2 separate regions of the Homo sapiens genome follow, and region 2 is linked to region 1. Evidence: promoter capture Hi-C in 16 types of primary human blood cells and fetal thymus (Javierre and others, 2016). All regions are on one chromosome and are shown on one strand. Each heading gives the region's core, a stretch centred on a gene start or on the middle of the fragment in contact. The rest is flanking DNA. Distances are from core to core; before and after follow the strand shown.

Region 1 (5,131 bases), core at 1,036-3,535:
GGTAGGTGAACGCTCAAAACACACGCCGTGGCGGTCCATTTAAGCAGGAAAGCGTTGGGAACTGATTGGATTGAGGATTTGGGGCCTTCCCATGCGCCGGCTGCACAGTCCCCAGCCTTGTTCCCACACTTACCAGGCCGGGAACGAAACTGGGGTAGGGAGAGGCGGAGGGTGCAGGGAACATAGTGTTAATGTTCCAGGTTACGTTCACTGCTGCTCTCTGCACTTTCTCGTTCCGTTAGATCTGATCCTCGTTTCCTGTGGTGAAGTAGCGTGCAGAATCGTAAGATAAATTACGTTTTGAATTTGAAGCAAAGGGCACCCTTTAAAAATTTTCCTTAAAGCCACAGTCGACTTAACGAATAGCTCAATTGTTGAGTGTCAGCCTGTGTCAGGCAGTGTGGAAGGTCCTGGAAATATTCCGGGACAGAGAATATCGGGGGGTGGGGGTGGCGGGGGGGACTCGGTTTAGTCTGACATTTCTTCATACTGTTTGTAAGTCAAAGTAAATTGTCTTAAAGGATGACTTTTAACTTCCTCTTCTCACAATGTCACAGTTCTCAGATGATATGTATTCTGCTGCACTGGGCCAATGTATAATACCTGTTTGTTTGCGCATATGGAATTCTTAGTAGTGGCCGAGCGCGGTGGCTCCCGTCAGCACTTTGGGAGGCCGAGATGTGCAGATCGCTTGAGACCAACCTGACAAACATGGGGAAATCCTGTATCTACTAAAAATACAAAAATTAGCCTAGTGTGATGGCGTGCGCCTGTAATCCCAGCTACTCGGGAGGCTGAGGCCGGACGATCGCTTGAGCCCAGGAGGCGGAGTTTGCAGTGAGCTGAGATCGCACCACTACACCACAGCCTGAGTGACAGAGTTAGACTGTCTCAAAAAAAAAAAAAAAAAATTCTTAGTTGAGTCTAGTGTATTTTCGTAGCCGCCTTTTCCATTCTCCATATCTGCTAATTCAAACCTTATTTTCTTATAGCTCTCAATTCCTTGGCCACCCCCTACATCTCCTCTCTCTATTCCCTCAGGTACTTCTGATAAATCAGATGGAAAAAATTGAAGCAAAAGCTTAATTTTTTTTTTTTTTTTTTAAGAGATGGGGTCTGGCCATGTTGCCCAGGCTGGTCTCAAACTCCTGAGGTCAAACCATCTGCCTGTCTCGGCCTCCCAAAGTGCTGGGATTACAAGCATGAGCCAATGTGCCCAGCCAAAAGCTTAAACTTTTAAAGCTGTTTAAACTTCTGTCTCATTTATATCTTGTGTTGTAGAAATTTATTAGCATCATTATATTCCTTGTTCTTTTTTAACTACTATCTCAGTAGAAGAAAAATTCGAAAAAAAAGATTTTTAAAGCATAATTTTTGGCTGGGTAATATATTCTCATAGCTCACAAGCCAGAAAATTTAAAAATGTTAAAGTGGGGTGGCTGGTGCAGTGGCTCACGCCTGTTATCCCAGCATTTTGGGAGTCTGAGGCGGGTGGATTACTTGAGCTCAGGAGTTCGAGAGCAGCCTGGGCAACATGGGAGACCCCTCTCTATAAGAAATAGAAAAATTAGCTGGGCGTGGTCTTGCTCACCTATAGTCCCAGCTACTTGTGGGGCTGAGGCTGGAGGATCGCTTGAGCCTGGGAAGTTGACACTGCTATGAGCTGAGAACAAAGTGAGACCTTGTCTCAAAAAAAACAAGTTAAAGTGTCACGTCTCCTTCTTACCCACCATCTGCCCAGTTTGAACTCTCCACAGTGGGTAACTACAGTTATAACAGTTATAAGAGGTTCTTATCACTCCACAGTTTCTTTTTTTTTTTTTGATGGTCTTGCTCTGTTGCCCAGGCTTGAGTGTGGTGGCGCAATCTCGGCTCACTGTAACCTCCATCTCCCAGGTTCAAGCAGTTCTCCTGCCTCAGCCTCCCGAGTAGCTGAGATTACAGGCGTACACCACCGTGCCCAGCTAATTTTAGTATTTTTAGTAGAGATGGTTTCTCCACGTTGGCCAGGCTGATCTCAAACTCCTGACCTCAGGTGATTCACCTGCCTCGGCCTCCGAAAGTGCTGGGATTGCAGGTGTGAACCTCCAAGCCCAGCCTCCACAGTTTCCTTATGCATATTTAAGCAAATATAAATGGGATTTTCTCTTTTTTTAAAGACAGTAATATTCACACTTTTCTCCACTTTTAGATTTTGTTTAATGTGTCCAGGAGATTTTCGTATCAGTACACAGAAAGCATCGCGCCCCCCCTCCCGTGTCCCCACCCCCAGTTACTTAGTTTGTGTGGATGTACCATAACTTAAGTAGTCTCTTGATGGATATTCGGTTTATTTCTAGTCATTTTCGGGTTCAAACAGTGCTGTAAATGAATAATCTTGTACGTATAATTTGCCCAAGTATGTCTGTGGGATACATTTCTACATATAAAATTGTCAGGTCAAATGATATGCACGTTTAACATTTTGCTAGATGATGCCAAGTGACCACCATAGTGGTGATTGTACTAATTTTGCATTCTTATTAGCAATGTATAATGATCCTGTGGAAAAAGAGTTTATCAGGGTTGCTTTAGCAGTGAACCTACATTTTATTGCCCATGTCCTCTGAAATGTTTATTAGATAACGTCCTCATCAGTTTTCAGTCACTATGTGAAAATGTCAGATTTCTGTCATCCACATGGAAACAAGTTAAATTCTTTTCATTGTTACCTTTTTCTTCTAGTATTTTACCTTTCTTCTTTCACTCACAGCCAAACTTATAAAAATAATAAGCTGTCCTTGTTTCTAATTTTCATCTTTCATGTGCTTTTCAACTGATTACAATATGTTTCTACTCATGCTACTACATTAAGATAGCTCTAAGATTGACAGCGACTTCTCAATTGATAAATGAGATGGATATTTAAAACTTATCTAAACCCTGTGGTCTTCAAAACTGTTGATGACATCTTCCCGGAAACTCACTCAGCTTTCTAGCGACATCACTTTCACTTGATTTTTCTTATCTGACTTTTCTCATTTTCTTTCCTGTTCACATTCTCCTTGGGTGATCTCATCCATTTTCCATTGTTTCAGTTACCATCTGTATGCGGATAACTTCTGAATGTGTATACTTCTAGTTTAAAATCTGGGGTATCTAACTGCCACTAGCCAACTAGGATATCTCCCAGGCTGCTTAACCTTGTCAACTGCCCAAACTGAGCTAATTATTTTCTTTTGCTATTCCCCTCCCAAAGCCACTGCCTCCTGTCTTCTCTGTCTCGGTGAAGGGCACATTTGGCCCTCTGTATCTGTAGGTTTCACATCTGTATATTCAATTAACCTTGGATTGAAAATATTAAAAAGCTTGAGGCCAGGAATTTGAGACCAGCCTGGGCAACATAGGGAGACCTCATCTCTACAAAAAAATTTAAAAAATTAGCTGGGCATGGTGGCATGTGCCTGTGATCCCAGCTCCTCGGGATACTGAGGTGGGAGGACTGCTTGAGCCCTAAGAATTTGAGGCTACAGTGAGCTGTGATCACACCACTGCACTTCAGCCTGGGTAACAGCAAGGCCCTGTCTCAAAAAACAAAAAAGAGAATATTAAAAAAAAATTGCGTCCTTGTAAAAATGTACAGACTTTTTTTTTCTTGCCATTATTCCATAAACATTACAAGTAAATAATTATTTATATAGCATTTACATTGTATTAGGTATTATAAATAATCTAGAGATAATTTAAAAGATACAGGAGGATGTGTGCCTAGGGTATATAACAGTGCCATTTCATGTCAGGGACTTAAGCATCTGTGTTTGGTATCTATGGGAGGTCCTGAAACCAGTCTCCAATGGACACTGAGGTACAACTGTTGTACCCTCTGTTGTTGAAACCGAAAGCCTGGGCATCATTTTTGACTCCTCTCTTTCACCTCTATATCTAATCAGTCACCAAGCCCTGTTGGTTCTGTCTCCTAAATATGTCAAATCTGGCCACTTCTCTATCCCCTCCACCATCATTCTAGTTCATGTTGCTGCCATCCCTTGCCTAGATTACTCCTAACTGATTTGTATACTTCCAATCCACTCTCCACACTGGCCATAGGGATCTTTCAGAAATGAAAATCTGACCTAGCCACAACCCTGCTAAACTCATATCTCTTGGTAAAGGCCAAACTCTTCTTATTCCACTTCCAACTTCACAATCTGTGCTTCCGCTACATTGGCCTTCTATCATTCTTTGAATATGCCATCCTGTCTTGCATTATGGGGTCTTTTGCACAATTTGTTTTTTTCTATTTGGTAGGATTCTTTCTTGACTCCTACCTTTGTCCCTTCCTTTTGCCTGATTACTCCTGTTTATAACACGAGATCTCTGCTCAGGTTTTTTTTTTTTTTTTTTTTTTGAGATGGAGTTTCCCTTTGTCCCCCAGGCTGGAGTGCAGTGGTGTGATATCGGCTCACTGCAACCTCTGCCTCCCAGGTTCAAGTGATTCTTCGCCTCAGCCTCCTGAGTAGCTGGGATTTCAGGGATGCGCCACCATGCCCTTCTAATTTTTGTATTTTTAGTAGAGACGGGGTTTCACCATGCTGGCCAGGCTGCTCTCAAACTCTTGGCCTTGTGATCCACCTGCCTTGGGTTCCCAAACTGCTGGGATTACAAGCGTGAGCCACTGCGCCCGGCCAGCTTTTTAAAGAAAATTTTAGAGACGGGGGTCTCGCTTTGTGGCTCAGGCTGGTCTCGAACTCCTGGGTTCAAGTGATCCTGCTGCCTTGGCCTTCCAGTGGTGGGATTACTGACATGAGCCACTGCACCTGGCCTCTGCCCAGCTTTTGGGAAGTCTTCCCTAACCTTTTCAGATCTTTGTCAGGAATATTCATATCACTTTTTTTTTTTTTTTAGACAGGGTCGCACTCTCACCCAGGCTGGAGTGCAGTGGCGTGATCTCGGCTCATTGCAACCTCCACCTTCTGGGTTCAAGCGATTCTCCTGCCTCAGCCTTCCTAGTAGCTGGGACTACAGGCAGGTGCCACCATGCCTGGCTAATTTTTGTATTTTTAGTAGAGATGGGTTTTCTCCATGTTGGCCAGGCTGGTCTCGAACTCCTGGTCTCAAGTGATCTGCCTGCCTCGGCCTCCTAAAGTGTTGG
Region 2 (6,922 bases), core at 2,844-5,343, 1.0 Mb before region 1:
GCCAAAATGAATTGCATGTCTCTCCAAGAAAGGTTGAAAGCCAAAGTCAAAGTCTGGAACCCAACAGCAAATTTCTGAGTAACTGCCCAGTTTTTCCTTACATTGTTGGATATCAGTTATTAAGAAGGAGACCTGTACCCTGATGGGACCCTCAGTTCCTGCCACCTCTCTGAGAGGTAGCAGGACAGGTGGTGTCATTGAATATGGTGTTCCTAAGCTAGTATGGGGAGGGATCGCTAGGACCCGTGACTCTTGTCCTTCTTTTGAAGCTTCAAGTGCACTTGGACCTGGATTATAGGAAGGTGGCTATTGTTCACCCTGACACATATGTACCCCTTGCAAGAGGGGGTTATCTACAGTATTCGGCTCAGTTTTAGGAGTTTCTTTCTGTGGAGAAGTGCTGGGAGCTTTGAAAATGGTAGGCTTTTGGTATAGGGCCATGAAGGCTTGCACATATGGTATTTCTGACCATTTGCCTTGTCTCTTACAAAATAGTTCTAATTGGAGGATGGTGTCATAATTGAGACTTCCATTGACTGGCCATTGCTCTTGACTCCCTAGCTGAAATTGAGGCCAAAAGGTGTTACAATAAAATATTAGGCATTTCTTTCACAGGTTTTCAGGGTCAAATTGATTCCAATGATTGAAGATGCAGCCAAGAGGGGAGTCAGATAGGACTGAAGGAATGTTTCCCAACACTAATCTGTGGAAAAGAAGAAGGGAGTTGTCAGGCCTCTGAGCCCAAGCCAAGCCATTGAATCCCCTGTGACTTGCACATATATGCCCAGATGGCCCAAAGTAACTGAAGAATCACAAAAGAAGTGAAAATACCCTGCCCCGCCTTAACTGATGACATTCCACCACAAAAGAAGTGAAAATGGCCAGTCCTTGTCTTAAGTGATGACATTACCTTGTGAAAGTCCTTTTCCTGGCTCATCCTGGCTCAAAAAGCTCCCCCACTGAGCACCTTGCGACCCCCACTCCTGCCCACCACAGAATAACCCCTTTGACTGTAATTTTCCTTTACCTACCCAAATCCTATAAAACTGCCCCACCCCTATCTCCTTTCGCTGACTCTCTTTTCAGACTCAGCCTGCCTGCACCCAGGTGAAATAAACAGCCTTATTGCTCACACAAAACCTGTTTGGTGGTCTCTTCACATGGACGCGCATGAAAGGAGTCTCATAGGTTCATGAGTTTACATCTAGAGTCTCCCTTAAGGGTGTCCCCTATTGAAGGATCTGGACTGTAATTTTGGTCCATTTGGGCATCCCCCAAATGGACCTGTCCTCTGAGTGCCAGACGTCTCTAGCCATAGTGGGCACCAGTGCCATTTGAAGAAGGATCCTGCCATAATTGGTGACCTATGATAAGTTTCCCTTTAGTTCCTGGGTGTAACCTTTGGCTTCTAGTATCCCTGTAGCTGGCCAAAAGAGTTTCTTCCCAAATGGTTTCCTTAATTATTGTAGTAACTCTAGTTTGAAGGGCAAGGAATTGCAGACTGCCTAGTTTAAATTTGTTATTAGAGACTGGCCTCTCAATAAGATAGTAGAGTGCCCTCTGACTATATGAGATAAACCAGGCACAGTAATTTCCCCATGGATCCACTGTGCAATTTATGCAATGATCCGAGAGTCTCCACCAGGAGTTTTCTTTTAGCACCAGATGTACTAAACTAAAACAATCTAGATCTGATCCCTCACAGAAGAAGCAGGGTACTCTCATTATCCAGGTGGTTGGCCCTAATCTTCAGGCTGATGCTAATCCTTGGGCTCCCCACAGTCAGTTACCTGTTGTCCTGGCCCTTTGGGTTGGGGGGAGATCTCTAATTGGTCAAAACATGATATCCCAACACAAATGAAGAAAAGAAAAAAAAAATAAAACAAGCAGCAAGGCTGGGCACGGTGGCTGGCTGGGCATGGTGGCTCATGCCTGTAATACCAGGACTTCGGGAGGCCGAGGTGGGCGGATCACCTGAGGTCAGGAGTTCGAGACCACCCTGGCCAACATGGTGAAACTCTGTCTCTACTAAAAATACAAAAATTAGCCGGGCATGGTGGTGGGTGCCTGTAATCCCAGCTACTCAGGAGGCTGAGGCAGGAGAATTGCTTGATCCCGGGAGGTGAAGGTTGCAGTGAGCCGAGATCATGCCACTGCACTCCAGCCTGGGTGACAGAGCAAGACTCCATCTCAAAACAAAAACAAAAACAAAAACAAAAACAAAAACAAAAAAACAAGCAGCAAATAATGTAATAATTATAGCCACACAAACATGCACCTCACTGTTGCAGGGATTGATCTTGTACCCCGTGGGACCCATCTGTTCCATTCCCCAATCAGGTTATCCTGTCACGTTGAGGCAGGAATTTAAAGAAAGTTTTGTACTGCATTTACTCACTCTAAGGATAGTAACAAGCAAGGCTATAGGAAGGTCATGGTGACCTAGTCTAAGAAGCCAGGAATGAGCTCCAAACACCCCTGAGCAATGGTTAAGAAAAACAAATTCCTTTACTGTTTCTCTTTCCTTAGACCATTAATTATGATTATTTTTGCCTATGTTTAGAAAGATTTGTAGGTTCCTGTTTTTCTTTTGACGCAGCTGCAAGGCCACCAGCTAAGCAAAGCCAAAAGTTATGCAAATTTCAGCAGTTATGCTATAGATTACAAAACCTGTCACTGTGTGATTTACTGCCTTGGTTCTGCTTTTTTAATTTAGCCTATATAAGCCAAGCTCTGTCTTTGTTCAGGGCTCAGCTTTTTGGATGCAAATCCACGGAGCCAGTGCACACCTTAATAAAATCCTCCTGCTCCACCCATTGGTCTTTCTGGTCCTCTGCTTTCCCGCAACAATGGGAGTCTTCAAGCGGCCAGTGCCTTTTTCGTTCTTAACTGCCCAATCCGTGCCAGCAGAAGGCAGCTTTAAACCAAAGTGAAAGAGCTGAAGCAAAAAAGAAAGAAAATAAAAAGTCCCAGTTCTTCTGGGCTTACCTCCTGGCTGGCTCACCAAAATATGTTACCAGATTGGAAGTTGGGAGTTCCAGGTTCTTGGTGTTATGAACAAAGAATTGGATGAGACACACAAATAACCACCCCACAAGATTTATTAAGCAAAGAATATACCAGAGAGAGGAACGGGCTTATCTTCAAGTGGTGTCAGCCCTGGATTAATATAGCCTTTGTTCTTTTATACCCACTTCCTACACTTCTTTAACTCTAGGGAGGGGATTTCCTATAATTGTCATATCTGTTTTCTTGTTTTTTCTCTCTTAGTGCGCCTGCGTGAGCTTGCCATAATTTTAAGTGTATGTATGATAGGCATTCCATAGGTATGAGCTGGTCAGTCTTCTGACTTCCTTCCCTATTCTGCTGCCTCAGAAGGCCTATTTGGGAGAAAAGTAAACAGGAAAGAATGAAACTCCCTCTGACTGTCTGGGAAATTTTCAGGGGAGAAATGGAATTCTAGGATTTTACTATGTGTTTTCCATCTGTGAGTGGACTATAACGGTTTATTTCAATTTAATTCCACTCACAAATGTTTTGCTGAGTAGAATAGTCTCTGACTCAAGGAATTCACATTTGGGGGCGGCAGAGAGAGACGGATCAACAAATGATTGTATTTTGATGGATGAATTCTATGGTTCTACAGAGAGCCTGCGGGAGATACTATTGTGGGATAATTAATTGCATTGGGTGGTTGTCAGGGAAAGTTGCAGAGACAACGTGATATCTGCGTTTGGGGATTACGTGGTGAGCAGGCGTTCACCTTGCAGGTGAAGGCTACTCCGCTGCAGGGACCGGTACTGGGGCGGCGTTTGTTCCCCGCACGCAGTAGGTGATCCACACCTCCCGCCGACAGGAGGAAGAGGATGCCAGCTCAGGCACCAGCTGAGGTTTGGCATTTGCTGGCCGCGGGCGCCGACCTCCAGGGGGCGCCGTGGCCTCGCGCTGTCCGGGCCGTTGCATTTCCGGGCACTGGGGCTCCGCCATCGTCGCCAAGCGCGTCCCCGCCGCGAGCCGCTAATCGTCCGCCGCTCCCGTTACCGGGGCAACCGCGGCGCCTCCTCCGTGTCGGCCCCGATCGTCCCTCCGCGCCATTTTCAAACTGCTCTAGCGCCGGAGCCCGTGCCTGGACGGAAGGAGCTAGTGGGGGACTCGAGGCCTGAGGGCAATGCGGCTGGAGGCGGAGGCAACGGCGGCTGGAGCTGCCGGTGAGTCCGGATGTGGGAGCCAGAGGGCCAGCTGCGGCGGTGGTGGCGCCTTCGCCTTCTGGGCGGTACCCGCGGGCCGGGCTCGGGCACTGCCGGGAGGCCGCGCGGCCGCGGGAGGAAGTGAGGCCAGGCCGGGTCAGACCGGGCGGGGAGGGGCGCGGGGACTCTTCCCACCCACCCCGCTCCCACACCCCCTTCCCGTCAACACCCGACGGTAAAGTTGCAAACCGGAGATTGGGTGGAGGAGAGCTTGGGCCGACTCGTCAAGGAGCGTCTGTGTGGGCCGTGCAGACAGGCTTGCTGTTGACCAATGGATAGATTTAAACATTAAAATGCCTTCTCAGTGTAGCAGTCATCCATGCTCTTTGTAACAAAAATGTCGCAAAGCGTAGGACGACAGCCTTTAATTAACCTTTGCCCAGCTCCTTTGAAGCCTCTCCACTGCTTTCCAGCCTTTACTACTTTGAGTTCAATAAGAAAGGACTCTGAGATAACCACAGCTAACGGGTTTCTTTGTTGTCGTTTGGGGTTTCTTGTTTATCTTCTTAAGCCCTGTGCACACATACATACAGCATTAAATGTACTGGTTTTGAGACGCCAACCCCCAGAGTTAAGTAGATGGATACTTCTACACATATATGTATGGGGGACCCCCAAACCTAACCTTTTATGTTGCTTTGCTAGAAACTTAGAGTATAGCCACCATATTTGGATGGGGGTTATGGGGAAAGACAACAGTTCATGGGTGGGGACGGCCTAACATGTTTCTATCTGGGAGGATTTTAATCCGTCCTGTGTATTGAGGCCCTGGCCATGATTTATTGATTCATATTCATTCTCATTCTCTCCCCTCCAAAGCAGGATGTGAGGAGGTATTATCTCTGGGTAACTGGAGTTGGTAGCAAAGAGGGGAAATGTTTTGAGTGGTGCACCGCCTGTAAGTTTACACCCTGCTAGTAATACACCTGGATTTGTCAGGTGTATTTCTGATGTCTGCAGGAATTTCCCTAAAAACCCTGCATCACTTAGGTGTCTCTTGTGGAAAGAACCTAGGAAATCTATGAGGAAGCCATTCAAAAAAAGTTAACAAGAGCAAAGAGAAAGATATACAGAAAGGAGTGACCAAGGAGAGACTCAGGAGACCTGGTCTCTGATGACTGCCCACCTACTTTGTGGCCCCGTGGTTTTGGAAGAGTTACTTTCTTGAGGCAGCCTTTCCTCATGTTTAAGTAGGGATAATATCATTGGTCTTTCTCCCTCACAGGGTAGCTGTGAGGATCGACTTTTACATGTATGCTCATGCATGTAATGCATTTTTTATATATTGTGAAGAACAACAGATGTAAAACAAAATTTTTATTTGGCTTAGAAATACGAGTACCATGACTACAGTTAGTTAGCAAAGGTTAGAAAAGAGCAGAGTTTCTAAAGAAATGATCTTTGGGCTGAGCATATTGGCTCACACCTGTAAACCTAGCACTTTGGGAGGTAGAGGTGGGAGAATACCTTGAGCTCAGGAGTTGGAGACCAGCCTGGGCCACATAGCAAGACCCTGTCTCTAAAAAAGGTAACAATTAAAATAAAAAAAAAAAAGAAATGCTCTTTGGATAACTCCATTTTAGGGCAGATTGATAGGAATATATTCATAAATATTTAAAAAGACAAAGATAAAAACTTGAACAGAGGTACTTATGTGTGTCTTTTTTTTTAATTGAAGTGAAATTTACATGATGAAATGCATAGAGTTTAAGTGTACTATTTGAAAAGTAAATTCTCTAAATGTATACACTTGTGTAACCACTACCCCAATCAATGTAATATTTTCATTACCCTAAAAAGTTGTGTCTTAACTCTTAACGGGCAATCTGCAGCCCGCCTCACCTCCCCAGACAACTCTTGTTTTAATTTCTGGCCCCATAGTTTTAATTTTACTTGTTCATCAACTTCATGTAAATGGAGTCATACAGTATTTGTCTGGTTTCTTTTGCTCAAATAATGTTTTTGAGATTCATCCATGCTGTTGATGTGTATCAGTAGTTCCTTTTATCCCTTAGTATTGCACTGTATAAATATATCATACTTTACCCCTTCTGCTGTTGATGGGGGTTTAGGTTGTTTCCAGTTTGGGGCTACTATGAGTAAAGCTGTGAACATTCTTGTAGAGTATTTTTGTGAATATTTTTTATTTCTATAAATACCTGGGAATAAAATCACAGGGTTATAGTCCAGAAGTATGTTTAACTTTATAAAAAAACTGCCAGACTTTTTCCAAAGTGATTTTACATTCCTGTCAGCAATGTGTGAAGATTCCAGTTGCTCCAGATCTTTGTCGACATTTGCTATTGTCGGTCCTTGTAATTTTAGTCATTCTAGTTTGGGAGAAAATGTACCTTGTTGTTTTAATTTGTATTTCCATGTTGACTACTGTTGAGCACCATTTCATATCATCATTCCCATTCAGACACCTATGCGAGGTGTCTGTTCGAATCTTTAGCGCAACTAAATTACAGTTTTAGCCCAAATTAATGTTCTTATTGGGATGTTTGTCTTATTATTGAGTTGTAAGAATTCCTTTTATATTCCCTATACAAATCCTTTGTCAGATATTGTGAATATTTTCTCCCACTCTTTGGTTTGCCTTCTCTATTTTAATTGAGTATTTTGATGAGCAGACATTTTAAATTTTGATGAAGTCCAATTTATCAAATTTATCT

What was found. The method cuts DNA at HindIII sites, captures the fragments that hold promoters and counts their contacts. A CHiCAGO score of 5 or more calls a contact.
Region 2: the fragment with the promoter of CEP135 here is called in contact with a fragment that was not itself captured in region 1 in 4 of 17 cell types (non-activated CD4 T cells, total B cells, total CD8 T cells and 1 more); the score reaches 7.3 in non-activated CD4 T cells.

What each region holds. Positions count from the first base shown.
Region 1 is chr4:56,979,004-56,984,134 of GRCh38, forward strand. It overlaps POLR2B (RNA polymerase II subunit B), which reads left to right. Exons shown (of 25, transcript NM_000938.3): 1 at 1. Among named protein-coding and RNA genes, the nearest start is that of POLR2B, 2.7 kb to the left of the region's middle. RefSeq lists an enhancer at 167-266. The HindIII fragment of the contact is 2,120 bases long and covers 1,226-3,345 here.
Region 2 is chr4:55,944,852-55,951,773 of GRCh38, forward strand. CEP135 (centrosomal protein 135) reads left to right here and starts at 4,094. Exons shown (of 26, transcript NM_025009.5): 1 at 4,094-4,208. It overlaps EXOC1-AS1 (EXOC1 antisense RNA 1), which reads right to left and starts at 3,161. Exons shown (of 5, transcript XR_941069.4): 1 at 2,989-3,161. RefSeq lists enhancers at 2,903-3,052, 3,671-4,635 and silencers at 3,850-3,989, 4,040-4,499. The HindIII fragment of the contact is 6,740 bases long and covers 268-6,922 here.